Regions from separate parts of the Homo sapiens genome. Here region 2 is linked to region 1. The links are contacts of gene promoters, found by promoter capture Hi-C in blood cells and fetal thymus (Javierre and others, 2016). All regions are on one chromosome and are shown on one strand. The core of a region is centred on a gene start or on the middle of the fragment in contact, and the rest is flanking DNA. Distances in the headings are between cores, read along the strand shown.

Region 1 (5,292 bases), core at 835-3,334:
TCCAGACTGGTACTGGGAAGTGTCGGCAAAGAGTCCTGTGATGTAATACATCTTCAGGTCTTTCAGCTGTGGATACCAGCACCTGCTCCAGTGGAGGTAGCAGGGGAGTGAAGTGGACTCTGTAAGGGTCCTTGGTTATATCTTCGTTAAATGCTCTGGTTTTGTGTTGGTTGGCCTCCAGCCAGGAGGTGGCATTTTCAAGAGTGCATTAGCTGTGGTACTATAGGGAGGAAGCAAACTTGACCTAGGGTCATCTAGTTATATATTCATGTTTCTGAGGCAGTGGGCAGAATATGTCCTTTGTCTTGCAACCAGGGCAGGTAAAGAAAGACCAACAGGTTGGGGCAGGCATAGGTGTGGCTGAGCTCAGACTCTTATTGGGTGGGGTCTGCTGCACTTGCTGTAGGGGGCGGGGGTGTGGTTCCCAGGCCAATGGAGTTATGTTCCCAGGGGGATTATGGCTGTCTCCACTGAGTGACATAGGACACCAGGGAAGTGGGGAAAAGCCAGCAGTCACAGGCCTCACCCCATTTCCACACAACCCACACTCCTAAAGGCCAGTCTCACTCCCACTGTGCCCCTGCCAACAACATCGAATCTATTTCCAGGCAGTCGGTGACCAGGGCTGAGAACTTGCCCCTGGCTATCAGCCTCCCTGCTGAGAAAGCAAGCAGACTCATGACTTTTCTTTTTGGCATCTCAGAGAAACTGCAGTGGCGATACAGTTCCTTCAAAGGGTCTGTGAATTCTCTTGGCTTTCCTGGTATGTTGCTGCAGTAATTCTTGAAGCAAAAGTTCATGATGTGAGTCTCCACATGCTGTCCTGTCTGTCCCAGCAGGAGCTGCAAGCTAGTCCTGCCTCCTCACCCTCACAGAACCACCAGAATAATGTTTGACCAAATATCTAGGCACTCTGTGGCCCGGTCAAGTTGACCCATAAAATTAACCATCACACTGGTCCCCATGCAAAGTGAAACCCAGGTTTTGGAGTTCAGGCCCAGGGTCCCCTTACGAGGAGGGCTCCTGAGGGTGATAAGTGTAATGGTCATATCTAGGCTGTCCTTCATAGCCACTTTCTTTCTTCCTAAACCTCAGGATTTAAGAGCACTGGCCTGAAACCTGGATTCGAATCTCTGCCATGTATTAGTTATGCAAACTTTAGCCATATTATTTAATCTCTATGCCTCAGTTTCTTCACCTTTAAAATTGAGATAAAAATAATCTCTACCTCAGGAGATTGTTGTGAAGAGTAATTAAGTTAATATGAAACATTTAGAACAATGCCTGGTACATGGTAAGCGCCCAATAAATATTTTAAAATAAATGTTTTTAAATGTTTTCATCTAAAACCAGTGTGAATCAGTTGTGGGATGTGGAAACCAAAAGCTAATTGAGCACACACAATAAATATCAGTACTTGCTGTTAGTTTTTAAAATATCAGCTATTTTTGTTGCTCTCACTCAGGCAGTTTTCTCTCTGGCCCTGACACTGACCTTAGAAAAGATAAATCTCTACAATGTGACCATCAGGTCTGCTGCAGCCCTGGTCTGCTCTGCAATAAATGAATTTAGCACTTATTGGGGTGCTCAAAGAAGTCCTATCCCTGAAAGACATTCTTTACACTTTAGGAAAACAGGAATGGACAGTAACTCCACCCTTAAAGGCCAGTGAAATATTGACCTAGAGTATCTCCAACCTGGTGCTCTACAAGGCTGGGACTGCAATGTAAACTCATATTCCCAAGGGATCAATTAAGCCAGAATATCCCACAGTTTGTCTATAACAAGACAATGGGGCTTTCTGCAGCCCTCAAAACTCTCAAGTGAGGAAAAATTGTTAAGCCTTCAGATTTTAACCAAGCAGACCAGAAGGTGGTATATAGCCATAGCTTATTAAAAAGCATTTCAGATAGAAAAGGCGGTGCTGTAATTTCAGATCTGAGAAATGAAACTGAAACCAAACCTATATTCTTCCTTCCCCAACCTCCCAGTTGTTAAACACGCCCTGCTGTTTCTGAGCCAATTAGAGCTTGCTGTGAGACAGAAGCAGAGAATACATAGACTTCCGTTAAAACCAGAATGAGGAAAATACTTTTCTCTAGCATCGTAGGAGGAAGAAAACAAACACATCAGATATTTTCAGCACTAAAAGAGATGGTTTTCCCCACATATATGTAAAAGAAATTTGCAAGACTACTGGGTAAGTACAATATCTATTATTAATATTGTTCTTACTATCTATAGCAGCATTTTATTGAATAGAAAGAAATATACTTTTCAATTAGAAGCTTCAAATATACCTCAAAACAAAAAATAGTATTCTAAGCCTAGAAATTCTAGACTATTTGTTGCTCTGACAGCAGTCTGCTTTATATTAGTTGAAAAATTAGTCATAACATTTCATTAAAGATGCAGTTGAAAACTACAGACACTTTTATTGATGAACTCTCCCAAGGCATACAGCATCTTCAGAAAGAACAAACAGGCCAGGTGTGGTAGCCTGTAATTTGAGCACTTTGGAAGGCAAGGACAGGAGAATTGTTTGAGGCCAGGAATTCAAAATTAGCTTGGGCAACATAGCAAGACCCTACCTAGCAAGATTCCTACCAAAAAAAAAAATAGCTGGATGTGGTGGCACGCAGCTGCAGTCTAGCTACTTTGGAGGCTGAGGCAGAAGGATTGCTTGAGCCCAGGAATTTAAGGTTACAGTGAGCTGTAATTGTACCACTGCACTCCAGCATAGGCAACAGAGTGAGACACTGTCTCAAAAACAACAACAACAACAACAACAACAACAACAACAAACGGAAAGATAGATAAAGAACAGGCAATGAAAACTTAAAAGTACTTTACTTTAATCAAATACAACTTCCACCATCTACTCTAAGAAATAGGTAGCTTCCAGAAAACAAAACTCTCTGAGAGCTTCTCAGATATTGTTGTCGGATGACATACATAGGAAGACAGACAGACAGATAGACTACTATGGGAAGTCTTTGGAATTAAGGCAGCTTTATGTTCCTGGCAAAAATACTAGGTTTATGTCTAATTTCTCCCCAAAGCAAACAGTAAGATAATGCAAGACGGTTGGAGGATCACATTTCTGAATAAAGGTCTGACCTTCAACTCCCTTCTAGAAAAGTTAACAAACCCTACAGTTTAACACCAACCAGAGTTAAAAAATGTATGTGGGTTCAATCAGTAACAAATAGTGTTTCCTACTAAGATGCTCAGAACCAAATTTTCAGGTCAGTTTTTAAAGTATACGGAATCAAAACCAGTAATTTTAGGTACTAATTTTACTCCCTCATTTCACCTTTTCTCCCCCTACCCTTATTTAGCCTTCCCCATGATTTCTTTACCTAAGGGTTTTAATATATGTGTGATCCTATATTACTTTCTAAATTACCTAAAAAACATTTTGGAACGAGAGGGTATAAAGAAATCATTAATATGTAAAATATCTATGAACAGTGGCATAAATACCTATGAATGCTGGCATATATTTTCTCCAAGAGTGACATCATCAACAATTTTTTTAAAATAATGTATTGAAAGGCACAGCTATCAATAATCTGACAAAAGCTTTAGGGGAAGAAGTGTGAAAGTGTAACCTGTTCAATGACATTTGAAATATTCATAGTGTCTCTAGTAGAGAAAACAGTCAAAAGTCACTTCTTTATTATTTGCTTACTTTCCCAACCAAATGTTCAGGCCCAGTTCTCCATCCCCCACACTCTTATATGAGAACCTGACTTTACGTTTTCACATATAATGGTATGTAGTTCTTGCATGAATCAAATAATCCATCTAATTCACCAGTCTCATAATCTAGTTTATGACATATCACCAGAGACTAAGGACTGTGTCTGTAAAACTGTGAAAGGTCCAAGTTGATGAAGGAAGTCAGGGAGACCCTAGGAAAAGGGTACTGGTGGGAAGCGGCGAGATGGGGGATGAGAGCCATAGGTATGAGGCCTCAGGAGCCAGCGCACGCTAGCAGCACAATAATCGGGGACCCCTGCTTTATGTGTTAAATAGTGTGGGTGCAACAAAAGTGAGCATACTTTCATAGGGTGGAGTAGACGTGACTCAGTAAATGGATACAAGAAAGTGACTCAGATAGAATGGTTACTAGACGAGGGTGTAGTCAGTTTTTAGACAACTCTAAAACCAGTATTGAATCAACACTGAGTGGGATGCAGAAGTCAAAAGTTCATAATCTGAGACTGCAATAATAAACACCTAGTAAAACTTTAGGACCTCACATACCATTGAATTCACAATTATCCTTGATTCATAACACACCATCATCTTTTTTATGCAAGTATCTCTTTTATTTTATTCATCCGTTTTATTTTCTAATGTATTTTGGAGGCATTATTGGCTTTTTAAATACAGTATAACTTGTATACAATGAACAAACTTAAGGGTAAGCCTTTATGAAATTTTAATATGTACTTATCTGTGCAACCGCTAGCCATATCAAGATATAAAATATTTCCATCACCCCTTCCCAGAAAATATCCACCCCCCAACATCAGTCTGACTTCTATGACAGATTACTTTTGCCTATTCTTAAACTATATAAGTAGAATTCTACAATATGTTTTCTGTTGTAACTGGCTTCTTTCACACAGTATGATGTGATATTCATTCATGTTGTTGCCTGTATCAGTACTTTAATAATTTTCATGAGAATTGCAGATCCAAAGAGTAGGTATATATTTAACTTCACAAAAACTGATAGTTTCTTGAAGTGGCTAAAACAATGTACATTCCCACAGACAGCATATGAGAGCTCCACTGACTCCACATCATCACCAACATTTGGCATTAACAGTCTTTAATTTTAGCCATTCTGGTAGGCATGTAGTATTATCTTGTTGTAATTTTACTTTGCATTTCCATTACGGTAAACATTTTGGAACACTTCTAATTGCACTTCATTAGACCCGCCCCTGTGACTATGAAAATCCCCACTGGTTTTCCTCCTCCCGGTAGGCCAAGTCTAATCCTTAAACCCAACCCCAAATCAACAAATGCCCCCAAAGCTTACATAGACAGGGATCTTTCCTCTCTGGAATTTTAGTTCATCCAGTCCTTGTCATCTGGTCTATTGATGACTTTGTGATTACTTAAAAATATGAGTTTTGCAATTTTTCAGATTTTGATCTCATGGTTGCAGTGGGTGAATAGGTGGCCTTTTGTGATCTCCTACATCACCCTGGAAGTGAGACTTCTTCGGTTTCTTCTAGAGTCAGTTTGGTAAGCTATATTTTTTAAGAATTT
Region 2 (5,747 bases), core at 3,030-5,529, 890 kb before region 1:
TACTCTACTCTCTTGCTTCCCTGTGAATTTCACTGCTCAATTTAAATGTTTCATTTTAATTCTATCTGTGGATATATATGTCCTCTGTATTCACTCATTCCCTCCTTTTTCTCTACCAATTATGGCCCTATTTCCTTTGAAAATTTCTTTCTGAGGACCAGGGCCAGGTTCAGGGGCCTGCAACCTTTGCAGTTGCATAAGGTTCCTTAATCAGAAGGCCCCCAAACTTGGCTTAATGCTCTGTGGTCACTGTCTTGAAATTCTTAATAATTTTACCTTTGGCCTTAAGTTTTGTATATAAAGTCTTATGGAACAAGAGATAGTGCCCACGATTGCAGGAGATATGTACAACATGCATTTTCATTGTTCTTTGCCACTTCATTTGAATATTACATTTGCAGTGACCCAGGAACACAGAATGCCAGTGGACCCATGACGCATGGGAGTTCAGAAACACTCAAAAAGAGTACAAAAGGTGTGTTAAGTTTGTGTCAGAATAAGTATGGACACTGACAGCCCCAAAAGGCCACGTGCTCTGCTTGAACCAGAACTTCTTCCACAGAAAGAAGAAAATGACCAAGGAACTCTATCACATACTTTTTTATCTTACATTGTTGTGTTAGCCAATTGTATTAAAAATGATGGCATAAAAGGAAAAGAATAGATAAGGCAACCCCTTGCTCTCTTTCTTTTAAGTCCCTCCTAACTCATCAGTAGGCTGAAGGTAGAATGTTGGTAGAGTATGTGCCTGTCAAGACATGAAATAAAATCTGTTGACTTAGTTTTGATGCAGTGTTTTGACTGCTCTGCCATGGTAAGAATGAAATACAGATTCATGTGTGAGGTATCTATTTAGGCCATTCTTGCATTTTTATAAAGACGTACCTGAGACTGGGTAATTTATAAAGAAAAGAGGTTTAATTGACACATGTTTCTGCAGGCAGTACAGGAAGCATAGTGCCAGCATCTGCTCAGCTTCTGGTAATGCCTCAAGGAGCTCTTACTCATAGCAGAAGGTGAAGCGGGAGAGGGCAGGTTACTTGGTGAGAGTGGGACCCAGAGAGACAGGAGGTGGTGCCACATACTTTTAGACATCAGATCTCGTGTGAACTCACTCAAGGGGATGGTGCTAAGTTATTCATGTGGGATCTGCCTCCATGATCCAAACATTTCCCACCAGGACTTACTTCCAACACTGGGGATTACATTTCAACATGATGTTTAGTTGGGACAAATATCCAAACCATATCAAAGTACAAAATACCAAATGTGTAATTTTAGTGATTTCACGAGTAGCGTGCTCTTATGTTTGCATTTAAAACTGTCATTGCACAATATAAAGATCAAGGGTAAAATTAATGCTAATAATTTATTTTTTTCTTTACTCAGAAGAATATTAAATAGCAAATAAAAACACCATGACAAGTTGGTGTGGGGAGGGGAGGAACGATGGTAGGGAGATTACAGAAGAAAACAGAAGAAAGAGAAGTTTTGTATCTTAATACCTTTAACTGAACTTTTCCCCTGTTTTCTGAACTAGAGGCACAACATTTTCATTTTGCCCTGAGCCCCACAAATTATGTGTCTGGCTCTGCTGAGGACTTTAAGGTTGGAATTGTGTGCCTAATTTTTACAAACTATGGCTGAAAAGCTTGCCATCAGTGCTAGTAATATTCCCAAATTATGGAAAAGACAGATCAAATTGGTGACTTTTTGCAAACTCCTTGAAAATATTCTTCGCATTCTTAAAACTTTTAAGTAAAACTCATTCTTTCTCAAACATGAATAACCAAAATAATTTTTAAACACTCTATTTCTTCTTTAATGGCTTTGCTTTATTTTATCACAAGTATTACAACATTATTTTCCTTCTATTGGTCTTGAAAATACGCGGTATTTCTGCTGTCCTATGGGTTACACAGACTTTGATTGGCCAGCATAGTAACTCTAACAGCCATGTGTTTTCTGGGCTGAGTTGGGAACCTGACCATCATTTCAGTCTTCAGGGAAAATGTGCTTTAAATACCAAACAACAAACTTAGAAACAAACTTTGTCCCATAGCTTGTTTGTAAATCAAGAGCTTTTTGTTTCTAGTTTACATTTTGTGACAGTTCAAATATGATACCCGAGATACTGAATTTGCTTCATGATTGAAAAATGTGTTAATGTTTATTGAACCAGTTTTGAGAGCTTGGTATGCTCTTTTCCCTTGGATTGGACTTGAAATTTGGTCAGGAAGAGGTAGGACAAATGGGCAGGCAGGAAGCAGACAGATAGGAGAAAGAAAAGTTCCAATTTTGCACCTCGATTCAGACATTTCCTGCTTTTATTCTTGCTTTTGTAATTACTAGAAGGAATACTTAATATTATTTTAAGTAATTTTTAGTCCTTTATCTCCTAGAGACCTACAAACATTAGATGTTTTCTGTGAGACTATCCTGTGAGAATAGAGAAGAGGTTCTAAATGCTATTCATCTCTGTGAAATTTATTTGCTTTCAATCAGTAAGAAAAGTTAAGGATTTTAATTTAAAAAGGAAAAAGCACAACGAGAAAAGTGAAAATGATTCCCTCTGATCGCTAATGTCAACTATGGTCACATTTAATAATTCTTTTTCTGCACATTGAGTTCATTTTTCCTGCCTCTTCCTTTGAGTGCAAATTTTTTTCAGATGACATTATCCTAATTTGATACTAGCAACGTTAGCTAAAAACAATAATTGGATTTTTTAGGTAACAACTTCAATATGAACTAGCTTTGCCTTACTTCAGTTATATTCTTAGTACATTATATATGTTTTCCTTTTAACTACATTTCATTCTTATGTCTTCCTACCATGTAAAGGAAGCAGTATATTTTATGTAATCTAAATGATTAGTTCTAGTAAATATTACCATATTTTCAAAAATAACGATTTCTACATTTCCATCAGCAAGCCTTCTGTAAGGCAATTTTTAAACGTTTTAATTATAGAACATGCATTTTTTTAACCAAAGGACTGTCACAGATTTTAAGTTATAAAGGGATACCTAGCTATCATTTCTTTTATTGAATCTCCATCTTTTATTTGTAATAATTGTCCCTGATATTATGCTTATTTAATTTCATTGCTTTTAGAAAATGGCGGTTTTATTTTAATGATTTTTTTCTATCAAAACACTATTGGATAAAGCCTCCTTCCCAGGTTAATAACTCTTATTAAAAATTGTTTTCATGTGTTTTTTACAAAAGCAACTTAACGCAGAGACTTATGCCAGTATTATAGTCAATGTTAATAATGTCCTGGGAAACTATGAGGAAACGCTAAATGATCAAAGATCACATATTCGGAAATCTCTAGTGTGGAGACGATTCCACTGCCATATATACAGCAGCAACAACAAAACCGCAGACACCCAGTGAATTTTGATCACCTACTGTGTATCAGGTTTTTTTGTTTTCCCTTCAAAAACCACGATTTCATCGTATTCTCACGATAAATCCTCTGAGATAAAATGAAATTCTAGGATTAACCTCGATACCAGTAACACCTCCAACTCGCCAACAAGTTTTAAACCCCTAATTGGCACACTGCCTTGTGTAAGCAGTATTTCAATAAGCTTTGTGTAAGTTAAAAAAAAAAAAGTGGGAGAGCGTTTAGGGGTCCTTTGGTCCCCATAACAACTAAAAGTCTTGGTTCTTTCTAGAAGTACAACAGATGCAGTAACAGGGAACTAACTATTCAGTGCCTCTGACCAGATCCCGCAGCCTTTCCTAGTCTGCTCTCATCTGAGCAGGAGTCCTACTCAAAGGAACCTGGTTTTCTTTCCTTTACTGGATACTACAAGGCACAAATCGGTTACTTCTGTGGGTGTCGGATTACTTGTTTGTAAACTGAGAAACCTGGACAAAGTTTTCTCTAACTTTCCCTGAATCGTCTCTGGAGGTGAGAGGGAGTTCGAGGCTAAATCAGGAAAGATACCCCAACCATCCTCTTGTGGGTGGGGAGGAGCAGATCTGCTGGGTTAAACTTGGTGGTCAACAAACTGAAAGCAGCGACCCGCGGGCTGCGAGCGGAACAGCGGGAACGTTGGATCAGAGACCCAGAATCAGAGCCGCAGTCGAAGCCGCCCCCTTTTCCGGACGCCCCGTCCGCTCCTGGAACCGGGTTCACATCACGCCCTCAGCAACACGTTATGCGTTGGTGAACTACATTTCCCAGAATGCCTTTCAACCTTCTTCCCAGGGCTCCAATGAGCGCCGTGGTGACGCCATCATCCGGCGCGGTGTTTAGACTCCACTGATGTCGTGGCGCTTTAGGGGAAGAAGTTGGTGTTTCGCTGGGCCCTGGTACTGAAGACGCGGTCCGGGTCGCCCCTAGCTGTTTCCTACTCACCCAAAGCCCCGCACCCGCCTTTTCTCTCTCTCCTCTGGCAGGATGAGGCGTGCAGGCCTGGGTAAGAAGAGGGCTGAGGTTCGAAGTTCGGGGCCCTAGAACCGGGAGCGCTGGGGCGCGGGAGGAAATCGAACCTGTCTTATGTTCCTGGCATTTGGTCCAAAAAACAGGATGTCTAGAGGGGATCTTTGGGGTCCATGTCGAGTGGAAACACACCATTTGTCCCAGATCTTTGGAATTTCCTTAAGTTTGAGTCAGATTCAAGTTTGGATGGTAGGCTAGAGAAAGTAGTGGACTAGGGGTGGGTGTGTACAGGTGGCATCTCAGTGGTCGAGTGTTTTAGTGTTATTGACTGAGCGTGGTTATGGACGCTGCTATGTTTTCCAAAGCCCGACTCCGGTTTCTGTTTCCCTACTGGCCCTGGATCTTAGTTTCTTCAGAAGCGGAATTTGAAGAGTGGGTGGTTGCACCCAAAGCACGCTAGTAATGGTCGTTAATCTGGTAACAGTGAGTTACAAAGGTAAATGTATGTGTCATTATTGTTAAAGGTCCTGGAACTGGAACTTCTGGGTCAAAGGCGATTTCTTAATCTGAACCTTGTGCCACGGTTAAGGCAGTAGAACGTGGTTAAGGTTTGGCGACTTAACATTTGATCTTTACCTTTGGGGTTAGGAAACTGGCTCATCAGCAAGAATAAGTTAGACACAAGGAATTTTAATGGACCCTTATAGTAACGCACAGCTACTAGAACGGCATTTTCTGGTTCTGAAGCTTTCTCTTAGGACACGATTTTTTTTTTAAAGAAGACCCCGCTAAATTAGAGTGCAGTATACTTCAGAAAATAAATGAAACATTTGAAAAAAGATATTACCTTTCTCAGTCATTATAAGATTGAAAAAAGAAAAAAAAAATCCCCAAAGTGTCAGATATTTAAAGTCAGTGAAAGTTGCCAATAACCGTAGACTTGTTTATTGATCAATAAATTGTAGTATGAGAAAGTTTTTTGTTTTTTTAATGAAGTTTTTATGAATACTTAGATCATAGAAAATGGGGCCAGGTAAATTGAAGAGAAAAAAAAAAGAAATAATTTTGAGCAAGTTTAGCTTTATATGTCTAAATGTTTTTCTTGTTCATCATCCTTAATACCAAAAAAGATTTATTGTGTGCTTGAGTAAGCTCTAGGTATACAGTTGTTTGTTGCCCTGTTTGTGATCCCCAAAGCTTCCAGTCTAGGTGGGGAGTAGGAATATGTGCAAAGATAAATTGTAGTACAAAGTGTCGCTATACATCCAAATACCAGATAAGTTCTACATATAAGGGATGGTCTCAGAGATTTCAGAGATAGATCACTGTGTACTTTGTGGGGAAGATC

The links. The method cuts DNA at HindIII sites, captures the fragments that hold promoters and counts their contacts. A CHiCAGO score of 5 or more calls a contact.
Region 2: the fragment with the promoter of BET1 here is called in contact with the fragment with the promoter of SAMD9 in region 1 in 5 of 17 cell types (non-activated CD4 T cells, total CD8 T cells, naive CD4 T cells and 2 more); the score reaches 10.4 in non-activated CD4 T cells.

The regions. Positions count from the first base shown.
Region 1 is chr7:93,114,771-93,120,062 of GRCh38, reverse strand. It overlaps SAMD9 (sterile alpha motif domain containing 9), which reads left to right and starts at 2,084. Exons shown (of 3, transcript NM_017654.4): 1 at 2,084-2,200; 2 at 5,168-5,268. The HindIII fragment of the contact is 4,352 bases long and covers 1-2,290 here.
Region 2 is chr7:94,002,887-94,008,633 of GRCh38, reverse strand. BET1 (Bet1 golgi vesicular membrane trafficking protein) reads left to right here and starts at 4,279. Exons shown (of 4, transcript NM_005868.6): 1 at 4,279-4,436. The coding sequence starts at 4,418. RefSeq lists enhancers at 3,713-4,342, 4,353-4,402, 3,857-4,462, 4,463-5,069. The HindIII fragment of the contact is 1,547 bases long and covers 3,602-5,148 here.